Linked DNA regions of Homo sapiens: regions 2, 3 and 4 are each linked to region 1. The links are contacts of gene promoters, found by promoter capture Hi-C in human tissues and cell types (Jung and others, 2019). All regions are on one chromosome and are shown on one strand. The core of a region is centred on a gene start or on the middle of the fragment in contact, and the rest is flanking DNA. Distances in the headings are between cores, read along the strand shown.

Region 1 (2,727 bases), core at 160-2,659:
GATTTCTTATATGTCAACATCTCTCTGTTTAAACATATTCTTGTGTAAAACCACTACGTGACCTGAATAATGGCCATAGGGCTCATCTCTAAGCCAACTGGCTTATTTATTTAATGCATCTCAGTGGTTAACAGGGTTGAAATTTTTTGAAAACTGCAATCAATGATCAAAGAATGATCTAGGTAAACATCGATTCCTTGTGGCAACATTTTAATATTTTCAAAGACAAGGTACAACTGGTAGAAAAAAAATACCCTCATGCATCTTTTTCTTCTAATTGTGGTAAAATATATGACATAACATTGGCCATTTTAGCCATTTTTCCTTTTATTTTTAGTTGACACATAATTGTACTTATTTATAGGATACAAAGTGATATTTCAATACATGCATATAATGTGTAATGATCAAACCAGGGTAATTAGCATATCCGTCACCTCAAACATTTATCATTTGTATTGGGAACATTCAAAATCCTCTCTTCTAGCCTTTTAAAAGTATACAATAAATTGTAGTTAACCATATTCACCTTACAGTGCTACAACACCAGAAGTCATTCCTCCTATCTATAATTTTGCATCCATTAGCCAATCTCTCTCCATCCTCCCCTCTCCCTAATCATTACCAGCCTCTAATATTAATATCTGCAACACTACTCTCTACTTCCATGTGCTCAACTTTTTTAGCTCCCATATATAAATAGGAACATGTGGTAATCTTTCTGTGCCTGACATTTCACATAACATAATGTCCTCCAGGCTATCCATGTTGTTGCAAAGGACAGAATTTCATTATTTTTATGGGTGAATAGTATTCCATTGTGTGTGTGTGTGTATATATATATATATATATTCCATTGTGTGTTATGTATGTATAGTATTCCATTGTGTGCATATATATGTATATATGTGTGTACATATATATATACATAATATATATTCTTCTGCACATGGAAATCCAGTTTCTCCAGCATGATTTATTGAAGAGGGTATCCTTTCCCCAGTGTATGTTCTTGGTGCTTTTATAAAAAATCAGGTGACCTCAGATCAGACCCAACTACATCATACCTTCTTTCGAAATGTGCAAGAAACCTACTAGAAATTCTTATTGTTAGAGTTTCAGATTTATGTCCTGGTTTATACTGCCACATTCATTCTTGGAGGTGAGTACATTTCGATCTTGGTCCGGCTGCGCAGAGAGTCAAAGCAGGAAAATCACAGATTCTTCCCAGCAGTCTACAGCCTACACAGCGGCATTTGGTGCGATGGGATGGAACATGCTGTATCTCTATTCCATGTGGGGGTAAAGTGGGTGGCCTGAAATTTCCTGTGTCTGCCTGCATGATGCAAAGCTCACAGTTCAGAAGCTTAAGGACACACTTCATATCATCCCATCTGTTCTGGTTCAGTGCATAAGAATCTAAGTCTCTGAGGAAGGTAGCATAGTGTGCAGTTCACTGGACCAAAAGCTTTGGCTGCACCTCTTCTGGAAAGCCTGGCCATGGGGCTCTTCATGATCATTGCAATTCTGCTGTTCCAGAAACCCACAGGTAAACCAAACCAGAAGCTCACTCAAATCAACAGTGGGATGGAGCATTTTCAGGAGCCAAAGGGAACTTCATAATCCACACTAAAGGGAAATAGAGCCCCCAAAGATGGCTAAAGTTTATCCAACATCATCAGAAATTTCCTCTTTCTGGAGCCTTATTCCATGTTACTATCCTTAAAGAGGAGTACTCACTGAGCTAAAAAGAGGTCATAATTTCTTCTGGGAAAGATGTGTTGTTATAGAAAGGAATGATGCCAATATCTAGGGATACCTTTATGTCTTTGGATATGGTTTTTACTCTGATGCTCAGCTATATTTCCTTTTACTCAAATATATATATGTGTGTGTGTGTGTGTGTGTGTGTGTGTGTGCATGAATAGAGGAAGAAGCAAATTTTGGAGTTAGGTTTAAGAAACATGCCTTCAATATCTACTAGTTTGTCAACTTTAAGTAGTGAAGACTCTAGGAGCCTCAGTTTCCTCATCTATGGAGATAATGACACCTGGTTAACAGGGGTTTTATTAAATGATATAACCTATGTGAAGCTTGGCACATACTGAGAACTCAAAAATTAGAGTTTCCTTTCCTCTTTCAAAACCAGATTTCTTACATGTGTCCCTTATTATAAGAATAGTAATGGCCTATTCCTGACCCTCTACATTCCTAAGACCCAATAGACTACTACCTTACTGGATAACATGAAAGTCATTCTTGACCCTGATAGTGGGTTTGAACTCAGGAGAACAGTTTGATTCAGACATAAACACATAGTAACAATACATTGTTCTCTGGGCATCAGAGGAGGTGCAGTAGAAGGTAGTGCTCTGGGAGCATTCAGGATGCAGGCAGATTTGCTGAGGTTCCTATGTAGAGCATAGTTCCATAGCCTAGAATCAAGGGTTCAGCTCCTTTATTTTCTCAGATAAGATCTTATGTTCTTGGCAGAGTCTATCAGATGTTAAGGGAGGCCTAAAACCTCACAGGACCTAAATATAAGTGATCCAGTTAAATACAAACACTGAGGTTGACCTTGTCGGAAAATCCTCTTCAGAATATATGAGGGTCTGCCTTGTGGATACCCCATACCCCTAATTCCTACAAGCCTCCTCTGTCTTCCCCAAAACCAACGTGCCTTCAGTCTCAAACACTGATATTGTTCTATTGCTCCTTTCTGTGTAT
Region 2 (2,727 bases), core at 149-2,648, 61 kb before region 1:
TTGTAGCCTGGCTGCTGGGCTTCCCTGTGGGATTGTCCTCTGAGCAAACAGAACACAGCCATCCTGCTGGCCAGCAGTTGATAGATGATCTCATGATAATAACAGGTTATAACTCACCTTTTCTTGGATTTCTTGCTTTCCTGATTTCTACATTTCTCCACTGATTTTTTTTAAGGAGGAATTGTCTCTCAACTAAACTATTATATTCAAATCTTTGCTGGAGCTCTGCTCTGCTGGGGGTCTGCTTTAAGACTCTAGAGTCTTATTCTCCTGTTTTGATCTGACTTATCTTATTGGTCCTTTTAAGTCGTTTCCTCTTATCTGATCTCTTATCTCTTAATATTGAAACTCACTAGAATTTAATTCTAGTCCTCTTTTTTTCTCATATTATTCCAACCCACCATGGTTTACCAATTTCTGTACTTTAAATGCTATCCATAAGCAATCACATTTATTGATTTGCATATGTCGAACCAACCTTGCATTCCAAGGATAAAGGCTACTTGATCGTAGTGGATAAGCTTTTTGATGTGCTGCTGGATTCAGTTTGCTACTATTTTGTTCAGGATTTTTGCACTGATGTTCATCAAGGATACTGGCCTGAAATTTTTTTTTTCTTGTGTCTCTGCTAGGTTTTGGTCTCAGGATGATGCTGGCCTCATAGAATAAGTTAAAGCGGAGTCCTGCCTTCTCAATTTTGGGTGAATAGTTTCAGTAGGAATGATACCAGCTCTTCTTTGTATATCTGGTAGAATTCAGCTGTGAATCCATCTGGTCCTGGGCTTTTCATTTTCATCCTTTCTTTCTAGGTTTCGTATCAGTCTCAGTATGCTCTCTCTCTCTCCGTCCCTCTCTTTTTCTACATTTCTCCTTTTCTCCATACAACTTCTTTGATGGCACATAGCACAATTTTAATATACACTTTTTGTTCTCCTGTTTGTCTCTTACAATGGCTTTTTGTATTTGACATCATATTAGTCTAGATGTCAGTCAGTGTAAATTTTTGAATGAATGAAAAGTTGTTATGTTGATGCCAGAGTTAAAAATTTGACCTATATTTTATTCTCTACAGGTAGCTTTGAACCCCAAAAATGTTGGAAGAATAATGTAGGACATTGCAGAAGACGATGTTTAGATACTGAAAGGTACATACTTCTTTGTAGGAACAAGCTATCATGCTGCATTTCTATAATATCACATGAATATACTCGACGACCAGCATTTCCTGTGATTCACCTAGAGGATATAACATTGGATTATAGTGATGTGGACTCTTTTACTGGTTCCCCAGTATCTATGTTGAATGATCTGATAACATTTGACACAACTAAATTTGGAGAAACCATGACACCTGAGACCAATACTCCTGAGACTACTATGCCACCATCTGAGGCCACTACTCCCGAGACTACTATGCCACCATCTGAGACTGCTACTTCCGAGACTATGCCACCACCTTCTCAGACAGCTCTTACTCATAATTAATTAACATTTACTTCTGGTATGGAACAACTAGAAATACTGCTGGAAATAATATCCAAAGAGCTGATTCTACCAATCCAATTTCACCAGGAAAATTCCATCAGGGATTGGATGACCATGGGGATGGACATAATTGCTACTACCAACACAACAGCCAAGAGAGTTGCCTTACAATTAGAAATGTGTAGACAGAAATGTATAGAAGATACAAGGATTCTCTTAATTGGACTTAAATTCTTTATCTGTCTTCCTCCGATGTACTCAAATATATGAGCTAATTTTTGTCTTAAGTGAACATTTGTATATCTATGTATTTTTCCATGCCAAAAACAAAAACGAAGACCATTGTTTGGAGCTGCCTCTTATGACTAAGACAAGAATTTTTACTTTAACAGTGCCTGGCCCACTACTATCGTATATAGGAGAACATATAAAAGCATATAGAAAGTTCCAGATGAATGTTCCCTTCTCTACCCTCCACCTTTTATTGTAAGTTCTGACCCTAAATACTTTTCTGTGTCATGACGTCAAATTTTGTTTAAGGTTCTAGCTGGTAACTAACAGAGTCAGAAGCTAATTCTTTCATTCAACACAAGCACTGATCTAACTGGATAGAGATAAAAGTGGGACTTGCCTTGAGAGTACATCATATTAAATTAAAAGCTGCATCTCAAATTCTACTTATCTTTCCAATCTTCTTTCCACTTAGAATTCCAACTTCCAAGTATGGCAGCCTCATAACATGCCTCTTCAGGTCTCTGTGTTGTCCATGAATGTTAGTTGTGTGCAGTGTTTCTATGCTTTGTATGGCTGTACGCATGTGACTGCTGTTTGTATGGCAACAGGTGGGTCAGTAAGTGTCTTCTATGATACTACAGAGAAGCGGTTATTAACTATAAAGTTGATTAGGTTTTTTTTTTTTTTTGAGACAGAGTCTAGCTCTGTCGCCCAAGCTGGAGTGCAGTGGCATGATCTCGGCTCACTGCAAGCTCTGCCTCCTGGGTTAACGCCATTCTCCTGCCTCAGGCTCCCGAGTAACTGGGACTACAGGCACCCACTACCACACCTGGCTAATTTTTTGTATTTTTAGTAGAGAGGGGTTTCACCATGTTAGCCAGGATGGTCTCGATCTCCTAACCTCATGATCCATCCGCCTTGGCCTCCCAAAATGCTGGGATTACAGGTGTGAGCTACTGTGCCCGGCTGATTATTATTTTTTTTAAGTTCCAGGATAGAAGTGTAGAA
Region 3 (2,727 bases), core at 116-2,615, 37 kb before region 1:
TTTTACTTTCATATAATACTAAGACAATATTATTGCATGCGTGACAATTATAGGTAGTTCTATTTTCTGGGTGACTCCAACAAGTTATCATTATAAAGTAACCCATTTTCCTCTAAGATAATTTTTGCCTTAAATACTATTTTGTTCAATACTAAGAAGTAAGATAACTTCCTTTTGTTGGTATTTGCATGTTAAGTTTTTTTCCCATATTTCCACTTTCAATCTTCTCCGTATCTTGTTTTTACATTTATCTGTTGTAAATAGCATCTAATTTTTCATCCAGTCTAGCAACTAGAGTTAATCCATAAATTTACCAATCTCTGAATAATATATGGAACATAGACCACTTTAATTCTATTTAACGCTCCCAATTGATTCTATTTTCAGAATTTTGATATTTAATTATGTTTTTAATCTTATAAAACATCTTTATTTAATTCTGCCAGTTTAATCCACTTTTATCCCTTTTTTTGTTGCTTCTTCATCACATACTTTCCATGTGTGGTCATTTTTTTAAACTAAAGAACATCCTTTAGAATTTCCTTTCATGAGATCTGCTATCTCTATCTGAAAAGGTTGTATTTATATTTTCTTCTTAAAATATTTTTGTGGATATGGATTTCTAGGATGACATTTACTTTGAAAAATACGTTGAAGAGCTCAGTCCATTGGATTATGGCTTCTATTGTTTGTGGTGAAAAATCACCTGTCAGTGTAACAATTACTCTATCAAAAGTATGGTTTCTGTTTTTCCCTCTGACTGTTTCCCACTTTTCTCTTTGTCATTTTATCTAGATGACAATTCTTATTTATTTTCTAGAATAGTATTTCTTAGATTATTTCTGAAAAAAAAGAAGATTTATTATCTTTTCAAATTTATGTAGCTTTTTGTAATTCTTTTTCTTTAATTTTCTTTCTCCTTCTCTTTGAAAATCTTATTAATCAGATATTGGCTCTCCTGGATTGACACTCTGTGTCTTATATATTTTGCTCATACTTTCCACTTGTTTTTAGACTTCAAAGATTTTCTCACTTTATCTTCAAATGTGCCTGCTAAACAATCATTTTTCTAATTTCCAAAAGTTTACTACTTCTCCTTACATAGCATGATATTATTGCTTTATGGATGGAATACACTCTTGAAACTCCAGCCCCTAAATAATAGTTATTCTAATGTGCCTTTCTTCATTTATTTTCAGTCATGTTAAAGATTTTCTCAAATAGATAGCCAGCCTAGATTGTTTATTCATATTTTACATATATACTGAGCCATTTTATGTGTGCAAACTTGTCCACAGCTTTTGTTTTAAAATGCTTGAACTGTGAAGATAGAAAAGACATGTTTGCTGGAATGCATAATACTGAAGTTTACTTCTCATAGTCTTTCTTTAGAAGTTATCGCCTAGGCAGAAAAAGAAAGTAACTAAAAAAAAAGAAAACACAATTTCCAGGTATATCTGTGCCAACTCAGGTGACTAGTAAAACAAAATTCTAAGATGACATCTGTATAGCCTACATAGGAAGCAACCAGTTCACATTATAGAAGGAAGAATGAATGTTCCAGAGACAAAATATAGTTACAATACACCCTCATCTATTGTAGTAAAAAAAAAAAAAAGCTGAAGTCTAAATTACACAAATGTAGCAGCATAATACTATTAAATAATAAGTAATTTAATATTCTATTTCATGGCATTATTTTACAGGAGCACTATTTGATCATCTTCTCTTTATCACACATACTTCTTCCATTTATCTTACAGTATCTTTACATAAACACTAAAATAGTTATACTCAGATTGTACACTTTTGAAGGGAGTTAGCCTATTTGTGTCAATTATTTACTAAAACAAAGCTAAATAACAGCAACAAAAAAGCCTTGTTGGAACAGGGACCAGGGGAATGATCAGAGCAATAAGTAGCTTGCATGAAAATATTATTAACTCTGAATACTTTCTCATTAACATTAACAGTGTGTCCTGCCTGTATATTTAATCCATTTAGAATTAAACTATTAATATATTGTGTCCTAGGATGGCAGAGTTATTAAGCAGCCCCTGTATGCTCCAGGGGATATAGGTTGATATTCTTCAGCTGTCAAAATTCTTCAGCTGTCAAAATTCTTCAGCTGACTTAAATCAGCAGTAGTGGCGTTTATCACCAGTCAACAAAGTTCTTCTATCCTTCACTTCTTTAGCCTACTCATCTAATGGATGTTGGCACGAACATGAAGTTTCTCTCCTAAATATCTATGATGTTCCACAAATCATGGGATATGCCTGCAGGCTGCCAGCACAATCAGATCTTCATGTTCCAAGAAAGGGATCATTAGTTTGGCCCTGCAAGATGTGCCACCTTTCTTGGAGAACTGAGTGTGCCACATGCAATCTGCTGAGGCATGAACGTGCTCTTGGCATTTCTGTTTATTTGCTCCTTATTACACTATATTGTGTCAGAATGATGGTTTGGGTTCAACAGTATGCTCACGTAAGCCACTATTCCAAACTTCCTAAACGCACAGTTGTGGAATGTGACACAATTGTTGGCAATGATATTTAAACAGGATATGTGTTTTTGGTGGGGTCTCTGGGAAAAATTACTAAAGGGAGGGGTGGAGTGATCCAAATATTCAAGTGGTAGACACCCACTTGACTTTGGCCTTCCACTTCCTCCTGTTTGGAATATGGTCATAATGCTGGAGGTAATGCTGCCATCTATAACAATGAA
Region 4 (2,727 bases), core at 74-2,573, 37 kb after region 1:
GTGTAAGGGGGTACTGCCTTTGGTAGGGAAAGGAGGTGAAATCCTTTAGTTTAACTCAAACAGAATGGGCATTCTTTGCTCGTCCATGTTGTCCTTCTGTTGCCCAGACTTCAGGATTAATTCCTTCCTCAAGCAGGGGGACAATAAACGGGTGTTCTTTCTCCTATGTTCAGGTGTATAATGGCCCCTGCTTTCGCTAGAATGTCTCTCCCTAACAAGGGAGTGGGGCTTTCAGGCATAATTAGAAAAGCATGTGAAAAGTATAAAGTTCCCCAGTCACAACTTAGTGGCTGGGAGAAGTATCTAGTGACTGGCTGTCCTAGGACCCCTTGGATAGTGACAGATCTGGAGGACAGTTGTCCGGGACAGGACAGTAAGACTGAGAAGGCTGCGCCAGTGTCCAGGAGACAGTTAGCCTCCTGGCTCTCAATGGTCAAGCATACCCGGGACTCTGTGAGGGTGATGGCATGGGCTGGAGCTTGCCCTGGGCACCCTCAGTCCTTCTGCTGGATCATCTGGTTAGTGGCTTCTGACTCAGAGGACCTTCGTCCCCTGGGGCAGTGGGCCTTCCAGTGATTCCCTTGACATAAGGGGCATGGATGAGAGGGTGGCTTATTTCTACTTGGACAATCTTTTTTAAAGTGTCCTTGTAGACCGCACTGGAAGCAAGCCCTATTAGGCATTCGATTTGCCCAGTTTTTCCCTTTTCCAAAGCCTCCTCGACTAGGAGTTCTTAACTCATAGCACAAAATTCATGCTATATGCTCAATACATAATCACTGAATGGCTGAAAAGTACTGAACAAATTACTGCTAGATAAAATACTCCAACACAGCAATAAAGTTAATTATGGCATTTCCTTTAAAAATGCTGTTTACCACTTTTTGCAATTTCTAGGCACCTAATTATAGTAATGAGGTCCCATCTAATCCAAATATCTTTCTGTGACAGTATCTGGAAGAATGTTGGAATTTCTGAAAGCTGTAGAAGTAGCCGTTGATGATTAAACTCTTATCACAACATAGTCAGGGAAAGAGTAAGGTTAGGAATTAGTATTGTATATAGCTTACTATGGATACCAGTAACCAGAGCCCTTATCCCCCTCAGTTAGTAGCTGTATACCTTGTAATCCTGGAGTGGCACAGAAAATAAAGATTGGTGAGGCTTACAGAATCTCATCAAATCATATTTATCATATGAAGACAGCTAAGTTAATGGGTGCAGGAAATTTAGCCGCACGAAGATCAGATGTGTGAATATTTATTAAGGGCTAGGTGCAGTGGCTGGGATTACAGGCGTGCACCATCATGCCCAGCTAATTTTTGTATTTTTAGTAGAGATGGGGTTTCACCACGTTGGCCAGTCTGGTCTTGAACTCCTGACCTCAGGAGATCCACCCACCTCAACCTCCCAAAGTGCTGGGATTACAGGCATGAGCCACCACGCCTGGCTTGTTTTTTTGTTTTTGTTTTTGTTTTAATTTTCTAAGTCTTTCTTGCTGAGGGTCTGTGGATCAAGGAAATACTTATTCAAAAAACAGGTATTAAGTTCCTGTTAATAAATACAAGAAGAAAAGTGCTAACTGAATCACCTGTGGGTTTAAAGACCACCATCAAAGCTACAATTTTGGAGGACAGCCAACTGCTCCCTTGTTCTGTAATTCAATTTTACTCATTGCTGTAAGGGAGTTGGTTCCATTTCTAAATAAATTAAACAGAGATAACCCAAGGATTAGATGAATATAAGTCCAGCTATGCAGGAAATCGTTTGCCACCTTAGTGCACAATAAGAACTAAGAAGTTGGACTCCAGATTAGTGTATGGGATTTCTTTTAGCTTTTTCTAACTAGAATCAAGAAAGATGAGATATTTGACTGTTCTAAACCTTTACTTCAGCCAAGTATGGTGCTCTGGAAGCTTCTCAACCCCACTCCCACTGCCTCCATGTTCAAGACCATCAAATAAGAGGGAATTTCCTCTCCAAGTAGATGTCCATCTTCTACAACATTTTTTCCTACGTCTGATAGATACACTCTAGCAGAACTCCAGTAGCATATTTCACCCAGGATACAAAGGTGTATTTGTCAGCACCAGTCCTGCTGATGTTTTTCCTCAAATTCTGCATTGTTTCTTTCCAAATCTCAAAACCTCCCAGAAAATCCTTCTTGTCTTTTAAGGCTCAGATAAAAATAAGACCTCCTCTGTGATGTCTTCCTAACTCCTCTGATAGACTTGATTAATTACTATTTTGAACCCCCACAGCTCTTTCCATTTGTATTTGTAACACTAATCCCATTCGTGTGTGTGTGTGTGTGTGTGTGTGTGTGTGTGTGTGTCTGTGTATGAATTTTTTTAGCTTTTATTTTAGGTTCAGGAGAACATGTGCAGGTTAGTCACATAGGTAAATTGTATGTCACAGGGATTTGGTGTACAGGTTATTTCATCACCCAGGTAATAAGCATAGTACCTGATAGGTAGTTTGTTGATTCCCACCCTCCTCCTACCTCAAGTAGGCCCCGGTGTTTGTTTCCTTTTTTGTGTCCAGGTGGACTCAATGTTTAGCTCCCATTATAAGTGAGAACACGTGGTATTTGGTTTTCTGTTCCTGTGTTAACTCACTTGGGATACAGGCCTCCAGCTCCATCCATGTCCCTGCAAAAAACATGATTTCATTTTTTATGGCTGTGTAGTATTCGATGGTGTATATGTACCATATTTTATTTATCCA

What was found. Contacts are between HindIII fragments. The study calls those that stand out against the background at their distance.
Region 2: a contact is called between a fragment that was not itself captured here and the fragment with the promoter of DEFB127 in region 1, in 1 of the 25 tissues and cell types used here (mesendoderm cells).
Region 3: a contact is called between a fragment that was not itself captured here and the fragment with the promoter of DEFB127 in region 1, in 5 of the 25 tissues and cell types used here (H1 embryonic stem cells, dorsolateral prefrontal cortex, mesenchymal stem cells and 2 more).
Region 4: a contact is called between a fragment that was not itself captured here and the fragment with the promoter of DEFB127 in region 1, in 6 of the 25 tissues and cell types used here (dorsolateral prefrontal cortex, mesenchymal stem cells, mesendoderm cells and 3 more).

Annotation. Positions count from the first base shown.
Region 1 is chr20:156,045-158,771 of GRCh38, forward strand. DEFB127 (defensin beta 127) reads left to right here and starts at 1,410. Exons shown (of 2, transcript NM_139074.4): 1 at 1,410-1,549. The coding sequence starts at 1,501. The HindIII fragment of the contact is 9,888 bases long and covers 1-1,780 here.
Region 2 is chr20:94,933-97,659 of GRCh38, forward strand. It overlaps DEFB125 (defensin beta 125), which reads left to right. Exons shown (of 2, transcript NM_153325.4): 2 at 1,073-2,162. The coding sequence ends at 1,485. Among named protein-coding and RNA genes, the nearest start is that of DEFB125, 8.6 kb to the left of the region's middle. The HindIII fragment of the contact is 8,020 bases long and covers 1-2,727 here.
Region 3 is chr20:119,355-122,081 of GRCh38, forward strand. No RefSeq gene overlaps it. Among named protein-coding and RNA genes, the nearest start is that of DEFB126, 22 kb to the right of the region's middle. The HindIII fragment of the contact is 9,240 bases long and covers 1-2,727 here.
Region 4 is chr20:193,449-196,175 of GRCh38, forward strand. No RefSeq gene overlaps it. Among named protein-coding and RNA genes, the nearest start is that of DEFB128, 5.1 kb to the left of the region's middle. The HindIII fragment of the contact is 6,858 bases long and covers 1-2,727 here.